Linked DNA regions of Homo sapiens: all the other regions are linked to region 4. The links are contacts of gene promoters, found by promoter capture Hi-C in blood cells and fetal thymus (Javierre and others, 2016). All regions are on one chromosome and are shown on one strand. Each heading gives the region's core, a stretch centred on a gene start or on the middle of the fragment in contact. The rest is flanking DNA. Distances are from core to core; before and after follow the strand shown. Region 1 overlaps MSL2 (MSL complex subunit 2). Region 2 has its middle 18 kb from the start of PCCB. Region 3 has its middle 10 kb from the start of MSL2. Region 4 holds the start of STAG1 (STAG1 cohesin complex component). Region 5 overlaps MSL2 (MSL complex subunit 2).

Region 1 (2,700 bases), core at 51-2,550, 560 kb after region 4:
TTAAACTTGTAACTCTTCAAATGATGTAACAAGTCTGATGTATACAATCAAAAATCCTGTTAGGATTGGAGGGTCATGTTAAATGGAAAAATACTATTCTTGGAGATAACTTGGAAAGTATCATGGTCAAACTCGGGAACATGAATATTTTCCTTTTTTTTTTTTTTTGAGACAATCTTGTTTTGTCACCCAGGCTGGAGTGCAGTGGTGCAGTCATAGTTCACTGCAGCCTCCAACTCCAGTCCTCTGGCATTAGCCTCTAGAGTAGCTAACACTACAGGTGTGCGCCACCACACGTGGTTGGCTAATTTAAAAATTTTTTTTGTAGAGATGTGGCCTTGCTGTGTTGTCTAGATTGGTCTTGAACTCATCTGGCCTGGGTCTCCCAAAATGCTGGGATTACAGGTGTGAGCCCCGGTAGCTGTACTATTTCTTTATTGGTCACCTGTGATGTTCTAGATGCTAAGATAGAAAGATGAATAAGACACATGGCACAGGCCCATATATATTGGTCAGTGTTACTGGGAAGACAAGTAAACCAACAATTATTGGCCAAGTGCTGAGTAGAGGCACTTAAGCTATAACAGACCTCATGTGTCACGATAGAAAAATTAGTAATTTTTTATTTTTGAGACAGGGTCTTGCTATGTTGCCCAGGCTGGAGTGCAGTGGCATGATCTCGGCTTACTGCAACCTTTGTCTCCCGGGTCCAGGTGATCCTCCCACCTCAGCCTCCCAAGTAGCAGGAACTACGAAAGTGCACCCCCGCGCCTGGTTAATATTTGTAGAAAACTTACCAATTAACATTTTGTACATGTAAAGTTTCAGAAATTAACCATGAAAGCGCATTTATTTGTGTAGAGTTTGTTTTTGAATAGCTCTTTGGTCAGAGGTTAAACATTGGTGTTAAAACAGGGTCTATTTTAACAGTTTTTTCTTAGTTTACCTGTTTTCTGATCTGGGAAGAATTCTTTTTTTTTTTTTTTTTTGAGACGGCGTCTCGCTGTCGCCCAGGCTGGAGTGCAGTGGCGCCATCTTGGCTCACTGCAAGCTCCACCTCCCGGGTACACGCCATTCTCCTGCCTCAGCCTCCTGAGTAGCTGGGACTGCAGGCACCCGCCACCTCGCCCGGCTAATTTTTTGTGTTTTTAGTAGACAAGGGGTTTCACTGTGTTAGCCAGGATGGTCTCGATCTCCTGACCTCGTGATCCGCCCGACTCCGCCTCCCAAAGTGCTGAGATTACAGGTGTGAGCCACTGCGCCCAGCCTCTGGGAAGAATTCTTTAGAGCACATTTATCTAGTATGCAGGTAGGAAGAACTGTGTTTAGTTAGTAATTTTCTTGGTAGATACAATTCAGCTATAGATAGCAGATCTATTTTCTTAACTTTTTTTTTTTTTTTTAATTTTCTCGAGACAGGGTCTTGTTCTGTTGCCTAGGCTGGAATGTGGTGGCATGATCACGGCTCAGTGCAGCTCAACCTCTTGGGCTTAAGCTGTCCTCCCACCTCAGCCTTTCAATTAGTTGGGACTGTAGGCGTGCGGTACCATGCTCGCCTTATTTTTGTGTGTGTGTTTTTTTTTTTTTTTTTTTTTTTTTTTTGTAGAGACAGGGTTTCACCATGTTGCCCAGGCTTGTATGATCTCTTTTCCTAAGGAAAATCTCCTAAGAAAAATCTATAAAAGTTCTAAAATATTTGCTTCTACTTGGGTATATTTATGCAAGATGATACTGCTTTAGGGAAAGGACTCCCTAAATGCATTGTTACCAGTGCTGAGATGAAAAGAGGTTTGATTTGCAGCCCTTCATCTTATGATAAGTTGAAAAGGTAATAATAGTTTAAATGTGGGTTCAAGGCAGGCAGTATGGTACTGTAGAATTAGGCAGATGAGACTGTTTCAGTCTGGTAAGATCTGGTAGGTGTGGGGCTTGAGCTGGGCCAAGAGAAGTGGTGTAGTGGATACTTTTTTTTTTTTTTTTTTTTTGAGACAGGGTCTTGCTCTCTTCCCCAGGCTGGAGTGCAGTGGCTCGATGTGGGCTCCAGCAGTCCTCCCACCTCATCGTCCTGAGTAGCTGACACTACAGGCATACGCCATCAATGCCCTGCTAAATTTCAGATATTTTGTAGAGATGGGGTTTTGCTGTATTGTCCAGGCTGGTCTTGAATTCCTGGCCTGAGGCAGTCCTTCCACTTTGGCCTCCCAAAATGCTAGGATTATAGGCATGAGCCACTGAACCCAGCCTGTTAGTGGACTTTTTTTTTTTTTTTTTCTTCTTCCAGATGGAGTCTTGCTCTGTTGTCAGGCTGGACTGCAGTGGTGCGATCTCGGCTCACTGCAACCTCTGCTTCATGGGTTCAAGCGATTCTCCTGCCTCAGTCTCCTGAGTAACTGGGACTATAGGCATGCCCCACCACGCCTAGCTAATTAGTGTATTTTTAGTAGACACGGAGTTTCACCATGTTGGCCAGGATGGTCTCGATCTCTGTACCTTGTGAACTCCCCCAGCTTGGCCTCCCAAAGTGGTGGGATTACAGGTGTGAGCCACTGCGCCTGGCCTAGTGGACATTTTTAAGTAAGGCCTGAAGGAGAAAACCTTTGGCTTGTGTAAACAGCAGTAAATTGGGTTTACCTGGAATGAAGAGCTCTTGTAGGAGAGCCCTTGCCCTATAGTGGTTATTCAGGGGCCTTTTGTGTGGAG
Region 2 (2,700 bases), core at 116-2,615, 520 kb after region 4:
TTCTCAAGGCCACCACAGAAATCTTCATGGATGAGGCATGGAGGAAGTGAAAGAGGGACAGGACCTAGAAAATCAGTAGAATTTAGACAAGTGGTGATGGACAGAAAATATATCCAATGATGATATGTAGGCAGAGTGTAATATGTGTTCTAGGTAAAATAAACAGGGCACCTTATCTGAAGGGCACCTTATTAAAGGGCTTACTTTAGAGGTGATATGGGAAAAAATGTTAGAAAAGTAGGTAAAGATAGAATTGTTGTGGGACTTGAATGCCAGTATGAGAAATTTAGACTCTATCCTGTAGGCATTGGGAAGCCATGGACATATCAAGTCTACATTTTACCTAATCTCTCAGTGGCATTGAATACTATTGACTACTCTTTCCTTTTCTATTTTTATTTTTATTTTTAGAGACAGGGTCTTGCTGTGTTGCCCAGGCTGGAGTGTAGTGGCATGATCATGGCCTACTGCAGCCTCGACCTCCCAGGCTCAAGTGATCCTCCCACTTCAGCCTCCCAAGTATCTGGGACCACAGGTTTGTGCCACCATGCCCGCTAATTGTTTTTTTTTTTTTTTTTTTTTTTTGGTAGAGACAGGGTCTCGCCATGTTGCCCAGGCTAGTCTCAAACTTATGGGCTCAAGCAATCCTGCCACCTTGGCCTCCCAAAGTGCTGGGATTATAGATGTGAGCCCCCACGCCTGGCTTCTTTTTCAGTTCCTCCTTCATAAAACATTATTTTGGCTTTTTTGACATAACACACTCCAACTTTTCACACTCCAGCTTTTCCTCCTATGTCTTTGGCTACTCATTCTTAGTCTCCTTTGTTCAGTTCCTCATGACTTGAAAGTGGATGACCTGCCCAGGGGAGAATATAAACAAAGAAGAACAAAAATAAATAATGAACTAATTAATCCATCCAGGCAAATATTTCATGATTATGTCACTCACAAACCTAAATCCCTTTTTAAAACTTTCCTTGAGACAACTTCTCCCTCTGTCCCCCAGGCTGGAGTACAGTGGCATGAACATGGCTCACTGCAGTCTCGACCTACTGGGTTTAAGGGATCTTCCTGCCTCAACCTCTGGAGTAGCTAGGACCACAGGCGTGCAACACCATGCCCAGCTAATTTCTCTGATTTTCAAATAGAAACTCTTCAGTGACTTCTCAATGTTCATATGACAATGACAAAGATTTTTTTTTTTTGAGATGGAGTCTCGCTCTGTCTCTCAGGCTGGACTGCAGCGGCGCAATCTCAGCTCACTGCAACCTCCACCACCCGGGTTCAAGCAATCCTCCCATCTCAGCCTTGTGAGTAGCTGGGACTACAGGTGCAAGCCACCATGTCCGGCTAATCTTTGTATTTTTAGTAGAGATGGGGTTTCACTATATTGGTCATGCAGGTCTCAAACTCCTGACTTCAGGTAATCCACCCACCTCAGCCTCCCAAAGTGCTGGGATTATAGGCCTGAGCCACCACGCCCAGCTAAGATTCTTAACATAGCCTATAAGAGCCTACATGGCCTAGACCCTACCTATATCTATAATTCATCCAGTATTATCCCTCAGTCTCTCTGCTCCAGCCACACTGGTCTTCTGTCTCCTGTCAACTCCTGAAATGCACGTTCTCTACTTCTGCAGGGTCTTTGCCTTCATTGGGTGGAAGGTTCATCTCTCAGTAATGTCTGCTCTTCAAAATGTCTACTCATCCTTCATATCTCAGCCTTACACTTTCATAGAGAAGCCGTCCCTGATTTCTTCAACTAAATCAAACCTTTCTATGTGTCCTAGCACCATGCTCCTTTTATTAGTAACAGTTATCAAAATTGTAATTTTATATTTATTTGTGTGAATATTTGATGGTCAATCTTGTCATTCTCTTCAGTTAGACTGTAAGGTACATGATGGCAAGGACTCCAAGATAAGTATTATCTTCATTTTTCTTGTGTCACGTTGCATCTCTAGCTTCTAGCACTTAGGGCAGTGACTGAAACATACTTACCATGGTAGCTGAAATAACTACTGCATGAATGAATGAATGAACTGTAGCTCTTGAGCAGAGGATAGTGGTGAAGTCTGTGCAAAGTGATTCTTAGTTTAACAAGTCAATACTGAGTAAGATGAATTAAAGGTCTGGTAGATATATTAGGAGATCTGCTTTAAAAGTCTACTGCAGCATTTAGTCTAGGGAAAAAACAAAACAAAACAAAAAGCCTACTGTAGGTCTGAAGTGAAGAAGGTATATTAGGAAAAAAACTAAGTTGCTGTATAAAAGAACTGCTAAATACAATGGCCTGGCCAGGCATGATGGCTCACACCTGTAATCCCAGCATTTTGGGAGGCAAAGGCAGGCAGATCACTTGAGGCCAGGAGTTCAAGACCAGTCTGACCAACATGGCAAAACACCATATCTACTAAAAATACAAAAATTAGCTGGGCATGGTGGCACACACCTGTAATCCCAGCTACTTGGGAGGCTGAGGCACAAGAATCACTTGAACCCAGGTGGCAGAGGTTGGAGTGAGGCAAGATCACACCACTGCTCTCCAGCCTGGGTGACAGAAAAAGACTCTGTCTCAAAAAAAAAATAATAAAAATACGTAAATACAGTGGTCTAAATAAAACAGTAGTTTATTTCCTCCCACGGACATCATCAAAGTTTAAGTGCAACAGTATTCACTGTACTGTTTTTTGTTTTTTG
Region 3 (2,700 bases), core at 40-2,539, 550 kb after region 4:
AAAATTCAATTTTAAATTGACTGTTTGGAATGCAGAACACATTTTCCCTTAGAAACAATGCCATGAATAATTGCAGTTATTTTTCTCAGGAAAGTCCACACAAGCTTGTTTAACTCATAATGTAACAGCCATATCTGCTAAGACATTTTAGATTTGCGTCAAGTAGATCCCTAAATCCTTACTACTCTGAATTATAAATTAGCCGTGTACATAGCTGCCACCCCAACTAGACTGTGAACTCTTTGAGGGCTAGAAACTGTTGAATTATTCATTTTTGTATTCTGAATGCCTGGCATATAACTGGCAATAAACGTTGGTTGCATAAATGAATGGACAAATTTAATAGGCATTTGAATACTGTTGAAAGTGTCTTGGGGAATAAAAACAGTAACATTTAGTGGATCCCTTAATGCGTTTGGCACTGTCTTAGGTAGATGACCAATAAAGCAAGCTGCTTTGTTAAGGCTGGAGTTAGAGATGAAGAAGATAAAAAAAAAATTTAATATTTGAGGTGTAAAATAAATGAGTGCTTGACTTGCTAAATACATGTTTTTGGATTAAATCAATGGAGAGATACATTGATTTGGAAAATGTTATGGAAAAAATATCAGCAGGAATTGCTTGGAGGGGGAAGGGAGGTGGTTCTTGGGAGCTCTAGGACTGAGGAGGGGAGAGCTATGACCACAGCTAAGAGCAGAGGATGGAAGAGGAAGTTTGGTAATGGTCAGAAAGGAATGATCAGGAAAGAACAGAAGTATCAGTCTGAATTACAGCCTAGTTTAATTTCATCTGGTTTACTGCTCCCTATAAAGAAGTACTACCCTGGCCAATCTCTGAAGATTTTTCATGAGTTTAGATTATGCTATTTTTACTTTCCCATAGATTGTGTTTAATTAGATTTATTGGTTTCCACAATGACAGTAGATTAAGCATTTGTGGCTTTTGTTTTTGAGACAGGGTCTCACTCTGTCACCTGGGTTGGCGTATAGTGGTGACATCTCAGCTCACTGCAACCTCCTCCTCCCAGGCTCAAGCAATCATCCCACCTCAGCCTCCTAGGTAGCTGGGACCACAGGTGTGCACCAGCACACCCAGCTAATTTTTTTGTATTTTTGGTGGAGACGGGGTTTTGCCATGTTGCCCAGACTGGTCTCGAACTCCTGAGCTCAGGTGATCCACCCACCTTGGCCTCCCAAAGTGCTAGGATTACAGGCATAAGCCATGGTGCCCGGCCAGGCATTTGTTAAAATCTGGTAGGGATGTGTATAATGGTGAAAACGATGGGATAGAAATAATAAGCAATGAGGGAGAATGCAACTTGAGAAAGTGGGAGAGGGAACATCATCTCTACAGAGAGTTTTTGGTGGAGGAAGATAAAGGAGGGGACAGAGGAAGGAGGGTGAAAGAGGAAGGGAAAGGAAGACAAAAATTAGCTATTTTGTAAACAATCTAACCCGTCAGAAAGTCTCTCTGACTGCTTGCCTGATCTTTGTTCTTTGAAAACATAACTACAACTATTTCTGTATTTACTTCATTGTCTCCAAAGTGCTAGAGTGCATACAATAAATACTTGATGATTGATATTCTGAGTGTTTCAAATCAATTCACACTTTTGGTTTTATTAAGGACCTTATAATTAACATTGATTTGATCAAGCTGAAACAAGAACTGGCTTCAAATTTGTAAGGCATTTTATATCTCTCCCCAAGGAAAAAGCAAACAATTTTCCATGCCTATTAGGTACTACACACTATACTAGTGAATTTACTTATATTGTCACATTAATCATTATTTTAACAATTATTGAATTCCTATTATATGTCAGACCTTATGCTAAGCAATGAGGATAAGAGGCAAAGAGGGAGAAAACTGACCTCCTAAGAGTTATAGAAATATAATGGGGAGGAAACAGGGCTAAACCAACAACTGCAGCATAGTGTGGTAGTGCAACAAAAGAGGTAAACACGCTTTTTATCAACTTGGACCTGGCAGAATGGCTTCCACAAAGAAGGGTGGCGAGAAGAAAAAAGGCCGTTCTGCTATCAACGAGGTAGTGACCCGAGCATACACCATCAACATTCACAACCACATCTATGGAGCGGGCTTCCAGAAGTGTGCCCCTAGGGCACTCAAAGAGATTCGGAAATGTGCCATGAAGGAGATGGGAACTCCAGATGTGCACATTGATACCAGGCTCAACAAAGCTGTCTGGGCCAAAGGAACAAGGAATGTTCCATACTGAATCTGTGTGCTGTTGTCCAGAAAACGTAATGAGGATGAAGATTCACCAAATAATTTCTATACTTTGGTTACCTATATACCTGTTACCACCTTCAAAAATCTGTAGACTCAACGTGGATGAGAACTAATCGCTGATCGTCAAATACATCGAATAAAATTATAAAACTGCCTTCAAAAAAGAAAAGAAAGAGGTAAGCACTTGGCAATATTGGAGAATAGAAGAGGGAAGCTTTAATTCAAAATGGGTATACAGACAATAAGAAAAACAAGTATTTTCCACAATCCCACTATCCAGAAAAAAATAATATTTTGGTGTATGTCTTTATAGTCATCTTTTTACCATGCATGGATATTTAGTTTTTCCAAAATTGTTCTGTTAATCAGGGTTTAAAAAAATTAATATATTATGAATATCTTCCCCTGTCAATAAATACATTTTTATATCATTTTAATTTTTTA
Region 4 (2,700 bases), core at 132-2,631:
TAGTATGGACTGGGACTGGCATCTTTAACAACATGGAAAGCTTGAAACAGTCTTTGTGGAAAATAGGAGATCAGCCAGAGATTAGAAGAAAACGCAAGAAAATTATAAGTAGGAGTCCAGTCACGAATTCATATCCAATCTGGTCAGTTATGACTTCCTCCAGCGAAAAGCCACACATCTTGCAAACCCTTGAGAGAGAAAACACAAATAGGGGTAACCTACTGGAGACAGGCCCTTAAGACTATAAAGTAGTTGAGCGATTCCATACTGAAATAGAGTTGGCTATAGCGATAGAGAAGTTAGTCATATATGGGGCTAATGATCCAGGAGAGTAAGGATTCACTTTTGTGGTGAAAAGTTGTAAGCAGGTGAAAGGTAGGGATCCATGGCCACGGACGGGCAGGTGGAGATCAGGGAAGAGGCGACGTTAAACATAAATAGTTTGTTAATGATTTCACCTTACTGATTATTTCTCTTTTGGCATCTAGAAGGCTAAGATTCTCATGTGTATTTCAGAGCTACTGAAAGTAGTCCTAGGTTGTGGAGGGAGAAATCCACTTTCACAGCTGAGTCTATCTTCTCAGTCTAGTTATATTCTCCTCTCACAAACTAGCCAATGCTGCCGCCTTATGCAAAGCCGACACCACGGAAAGATGTGCTTTACAGAGGCAGGATGACGCCAATCGGCCTAGGGCCGGCGGTGTTTCGTCTAGATTAATGGCGAGGGAAGTCCCCAATAGTCCTTTTGAAACCTTTTCACTCTTGCCTGGTGAAAGCGCTTGTCAGCCGTAAATCGCGAATACAATGCTAAGCTCTGAGGCCCTTGCTAAATCCAAGTAGGAGCAGGGATCTGCGCGGCCTCACCCTCGGGTTTCCGCAGGGCGTCTCGAGAGCTGCGGATGGGGGCAGCAGGAGCCGGGCGGGAACAGAGGAAAGCGCCGGCCCTGAGACCTAGGGAGGAGCCTCGGTGAAGGAACCCGGGGCGGGTTCCTGCCTAGATCTCCAAGAAGCTCCAAAAATGGCGGGCGGCAACTCGGCGAGCCGGACGCGCAGGCGCCACCGTGGCCGTCCTTCCGCCAGCCGCGGGCGGCCCAAGAACCGTCCACAGCGCCCTTATCCAGAAGCCTACGCCTCTCGCGATTGGCTGAACTGCGCGAGCGCTCCGTGTGGGGGCGGGGCCGCCACGCAGCGGCCACGTTTCCCGCCCCGCTGGTGCGCGTGCGCGCAATCCCCACTGGAAAGCGTTTGCGCGCGCCCCTGCCGCGGCCCCTAGCTCGCGCCTCAGCTCCCTCCCCTTTCCGGGCAGGCCCGTCCCGTCAGCAAGGCAGTGAGCACCGCGGCCAGCAGAGGGCGGTCCGGACCCAAGTCTGCAGCGGCGCCATTGGCGTGTGGAAAATGCCACCAGATGGCGGGTTAGGATTGCAGCTCCGTTGAAGGCGCGGCCCCCGCTCCCGAACCCCCGGCGACCACCCCGTAACAACCCCCCCACATCGGGAATAACACACCGGAGACTTTTGGGGGGAAACTAGGTCGATGGTCGGCGGCGCCCGGATGGGCAGCTGAGGTGAGTGCGGGCGGCGGCGACGGCGGCGGGGGGCGGGAAAGAGGGGGAATGCGGCGGCAGCGGCGCGGGGGCTGGAAGCGCCGATCCAAGATGGAGGCCGGGCGAGAGCGAGAGAGCGCGAGCGGCGAGCGGGCGGGCCGGGCGCGGGCCCCGTGCGGGGGAGGGAGGCCGCGCGGGCCTGTGCGGGGTGCGGCGGTCGTGGGCCGTCCGAGTGCCCGGAGAGACGTCTGTGGGCGCGGTGGGCACCCCGGCGTCTTCGTCGCTTGCCACCCCTCCCGCGGGCACCAAAAATTTTGCCCCCGCCCGCCCGGGCACTACGGCGACAGGCGCGGAAGCCTTTGTGGCGCGCTCGGGCCCGCCGCCAAGCCCGCCCTCCGCCCCCCCCCGCCCGGGCTCTCGGGAGTCGCCCGCGCCCAGCGGGGCCGGGCCGACGCGGGCTGGCGCGAATGCCTTCCGCCGCCTGCCGACCTGCGTTTCTGCGGTGTTTTAGCGGCGGCGGCGTCACATGACAACGAGTTCATTTCAGCGGAGGGGCCTGGGGGGTCGCTCGGCGGGGCGGCTGGCCCAGGCTTCTTGTTGGCGGGGTGGGGCAGCGGGGTGGCGGCTGGGGGAGATGCATCAATGCTGGGCTTTCCAGCTATCTGCCCTCTCAGCCCCCGACGGGGGCCTCCTTGTGAAACGTGTCCAGGCCTAAGCACTGCCCCGCTAGTTTGCCAGTCCCCTGAGAGACGAGGCCAATAAAAGTTGTTTTCCCTCCTTTCTCGAGGTGGGGGCGGGGTGGGAAACTAGAGTGCTTGGAGTTGGACCTGAGCCCCGTTTGCAGGGTCCGAACTGGGTTCTTCTTGTATGGTATGGGTACTAAGAAATTTTCAGGTTTTAGGATTGTCACGTCACCCCCATCTACCCACATTTGAAATGTTATCTGTCGATTCTCTTCACATTGCAGGGAATCGTGCTCCGGGAGTATAAGTCATAGGATAGTTTTGGACACTTACAGACAAAAAAAAAACAAAAAAAAAAAACGCAATTTGTCATAAAAAAAAATTATTTGCTGTTAAAGTTGGTGTTAAGATGGATAGAGTTTATTCTCGTGATTCTGACTAGAAAGACTTGCATCTTCGCAAAAATAGTGTTTA
Region 5 (2,700 bases), core at 167-2,666, 580 kb after region 4:
AATCAGACTTGTGTTTTAGAAAGATCATATGGTGGCAGTGTGGAAGATGAATTGATTAGGTAAGGCACGGAGATAAGCTAGAAAACTCGAAATTCGGGGTGAACAATGATGAAGGTTGAACTAAGGCAGTAGTAGTCATGCAAATAAAACCTGAAGGGGTGGAATTGGCAGATTTTTATAAACTACATGCAGGGAGAACAATTGGATATGGAATGGAGGTGAAGAGTCTGGGTGGTTTCAAGGTATTTAGTTTGTGAATGAATGATAGTGTCAGTACCAAGAGAATAAGGGATGCAGGAGGAAGACCAGGCTTTTAGGTGGGGATTTATGGGAGATAAAATTTATATTTGCTCATGTTAAGCTTGAATTACCTGTGGGTTGGCAAAAGAGAGATGAGATTCCTAGTAGGCACTTCGATATTGGGTCTGAAGTTCAGGGGAGAAAGATTTGAGTTGGAGATACAGATTCAGAAGTCACCAGTTTATGAACAGTAGTTAAAACAGCTTTATGGGCAATCACTCTAGAAAGAAGTATGTTCCACCTTCTTTTGTTTGTTTGTTTGTTTATTTTGAGACAAAGTCTTGCTCTGTCGCCCAGGCTGGAGTGCAGTGGCGTGATCTCAGCTCACTGCAACCTCTGCTTTCTGGGTTCAAGCGATTTTTGTGCCTCAGCCTCCCAAGTAGCTGGGATTACAGGCGCACACCACCATGCCTGGCTGGTTTTGTATTTTTAGTAGAGGTAGGGTTTCGCCATGTTGGACAGTCAGGTCTTGAACTCCTGACCTCAAGTGATCCTCTTGCCTTGGCCTCCCAAAGTACTGGGATTACAGGTGTGAGCCACTGTGCCCGGCCCCGTAGGTCAGTTTTAAAGTTTGTATGGTGTCATGTCTGTTTCAAAAGGGGAAAAGATTAATGATCCTCATAAGATTCTGAACAACAATTTGTACTTTTTTTTTTATTAGCTCTTGAACTGAAGACGTACACATTTGTATAGTCAGATTCTCAAAGGGGTCTGTGTCAGTAAGGATTACTAAGGATTACTGAAAGGGAGTAAGGAGAGTAGATCCTATTAAGGAAACATGGGAAATACTAAAATTAATGAGGGGACAGAAGAGGATGTAGAGGAGATGACGGAGACAGTGTTAGGGGAGAAAGGAGGAGAGCATTTCAAGGGAAGAATAATGAACCAGAAGTGCCCACTACATTTGGGATTAGCAATTTTTGCCTTTCATTAGAAGACACATTCTGGTGAGAAGCTTCTGCATAGGGAATAACTGGATGGGGAGTTGCTATAGGAAGGAAGGTTGAAGGTGGAAGTGAGAGAGAGGGTATAAATAACATTAGGTATAGGTAACTGGGTGGGGGGAGTATGGGAGGTATGTGAGCCAAAGCATTGGAGGGAGAGGAGGATTTACGTAGGAGGGAAGAAGAAAAGGGTACTGTATGTGTGTATGTGTTGTCGGGGAGTGAGTATGAGTATGATGAGAGGTGGAGAGAGGGAGAATACTTAAATATGTAAACCTTCTGGTAAATTTGGAAGCATGAAAAAATTGACATAAGTAGAAATATTCAAGCTTTCATTGGACTTTATTTTGTCACGTTTATAGAAAATTTCAATATACAGGCCAGGTGCGGTGGCTCACGCCTGTAATCCCAGCCCTTTGGGAGGCCAAGGTGGGTGGATCGCTTGAGCCAGGAGTTGTGGTCCCACCTACGCAGAAGGCTGAGTTAGGAGGATTGCTTGAGCCCCAGGAGGTTGAGGCTACGATGAGCCATGACACTGCACTTCATCCTAAGCGACTGGGCAACAGAGTGGGACCCTGTCTCCAAAAAAAAGAAAAAGTTTCAACATACAAAGTAGAATAAAACTCTCACATACATACCTGTTACCTCAACATGATACCTAGTGAAAATTAATTATACCCAAATGCAAGGCTTTTGATACACCCTTTATAGACCTGGCCATACGTCTTGGAATCATCAAATTTTACAGCTGTGAAAAGAACCTAGATATTTAGTTAATAGCTTTAAGAAACTGAGGGCCAAATCACTTAGGAGCACACTATTAATATATATGACATTGTTTTACTCAAAATTTGTCAGACTTGGACAGTTACAGAATTACTGATTGTAGTGGATGCCATGATGTAATACCCAAATCCCCACTTAAGGCTTAAAGAAATTCATTCTTTTAGCTAGTGGGTGTGCTGCTGAGGCTGTGAGACCTGTCTGGGAATCATCCTTGGCTGAAGAGAGCAACTCATTCATGGTCACATGCTTTCGTTGTGAGTAGTGTGCCTCCAGGTTCTGGTTCATTAAAGTACCTGGCTCCTTGGGCCCAGCATAGGACAACCCTAAGGAGTCATTCAGCTTTAGAGTTTCTTTTGGGTCATCTGAGGCCTTTTTTGTGAGTTCATCCCAGCCACTTCCTTCCTTCCTTTACAAATGATAATCCTGAGAGAAGCTCTTCATAAGTTTTCTGCACACTAACCTGTCCTAAGAGTTTGCATGCCTAGGAATCTGACTTGTAACAGTGACTAACTTTACACTTCCTTTTGATTTGAAACAGCAATGACTTGCTAAATTTTTAAAGATTTAACATGTCTCATTTTCTCATGTTTGTGAGACATACCCAGGTAAATGTTGAGTAATAATATAATGAAAGAAAATGATTACTTTTACAATGCCAAACATACAGAAA

Evidence for each region. Contacts are between HindIII fragments. The CHiCAGO score rates a contact against its expected background, and 5 or more counts as called.
Region 1: a contact is called between a fragment that was not itself captured here and the fragment with the promoter of STAG1 in region 4, in 17 of 17 cell types (fetal thymus, neutrophils, total B cells and 14 more). The highest score is 26.7, in fetal thymus.
Region 2: a fragment that was not itself captured here is called in contact with the fragment with the promoter of STAG1 in region 4 in 1 of 17 cell types (total CD4 T cells); the score reaches 5.0 in total CD4 T cells.
Region 3: a contact is called between a fragment that was not itself captured here and the fragment with the promoter of STAG1 in region 4, in 17 of 17 cell types (fetal thymus, non-activated CD4 T cells, total CD4 T cells and 14 more). The highest score is 20.9, in fetal thymus.
Region 5: a fragment that was not itself captured here is called in contact with the fragment with the promoter of STAG1 in region 4 in 13 of 17 cell types (fetal thymus, total CD8 T cells, non-activated CD4 T cells and 10 more); the score reaches 12.8 in fetal thymus.

What each region holds. Positions count from the first base shown.
Region 1 is chr3:136,188,011-136,190,710 of GRCh38, reverse strand. All of the region lies in intron 1 of MSL2 (MSL complex subunit 2), which reads left to right. Among named protein-coding and RNA genes, the nearest start is that of MSL2, 7.0 kb to the left of the region's middle. RefSeq lists enhancers at 1,091-1,592, 2,227-2,700. The HindIII fragment of the contact is 3,029 bases long and covers 1-2,700 here.
Region 2 is chr3:136,230,777-136,233,476 of GRCh38, reverse strand. No RefSeq gene overlaps it. Among named protein-coding and RNA genes, the nearest start is that of PCCB, 18 kb to the left of the region's middle. The HindIII fragment of the contact is 8,086 bases long and covers 1-2,700 here.
Region 3 is chr3:136,205,209-136,207,908 of GRCh38, reverse strand. It overlaps the pseudogene RPL31P23. Among named protein-coding and RNA genes, the nearest start is that of MSL2, 10 kb to the right of the region's middle. The HindIII fragment of the contact is 2,366 bases long and covers 107-2,472 here.
Region 4 is chr3:136,751,059-136,753,758 of GRCh38, reverse strand. It overlaps STAG1 (STAG1 cohesin complex component), which reads left to right and starts at 1,381. Exons shown (of 34, transcript NM_005862.3): 1 at 1,381-1,564. STAG1-DT (STAG1 divergent transcript) reads right to left here and starts at 1,088. Exons shown (of 1, transcript NR_185911.1): 1 at 1-1,088. RefSeq lists enhancers at 73-1,004, 798-1,117, 1,005-1,936 and silencers at 1,128-1,357, 1,678-2,057. The HindIII fragment of the contact is 7,208 bases long and covers 43-2,700 here.
Region 5 is chr3:136,171,033-136,173,732 of GRCh38, reverse strand. All of the region lies in intron 1 of MSL2 (MSL complex subunit 2), which reads left to right. Among named protein-coding and RNA genes, the nearest start is that of MSL2, 24 kb to the left of the region's middle. The HindIII fragment of the contact is 318 bases long and covers 1,258-1,575 here.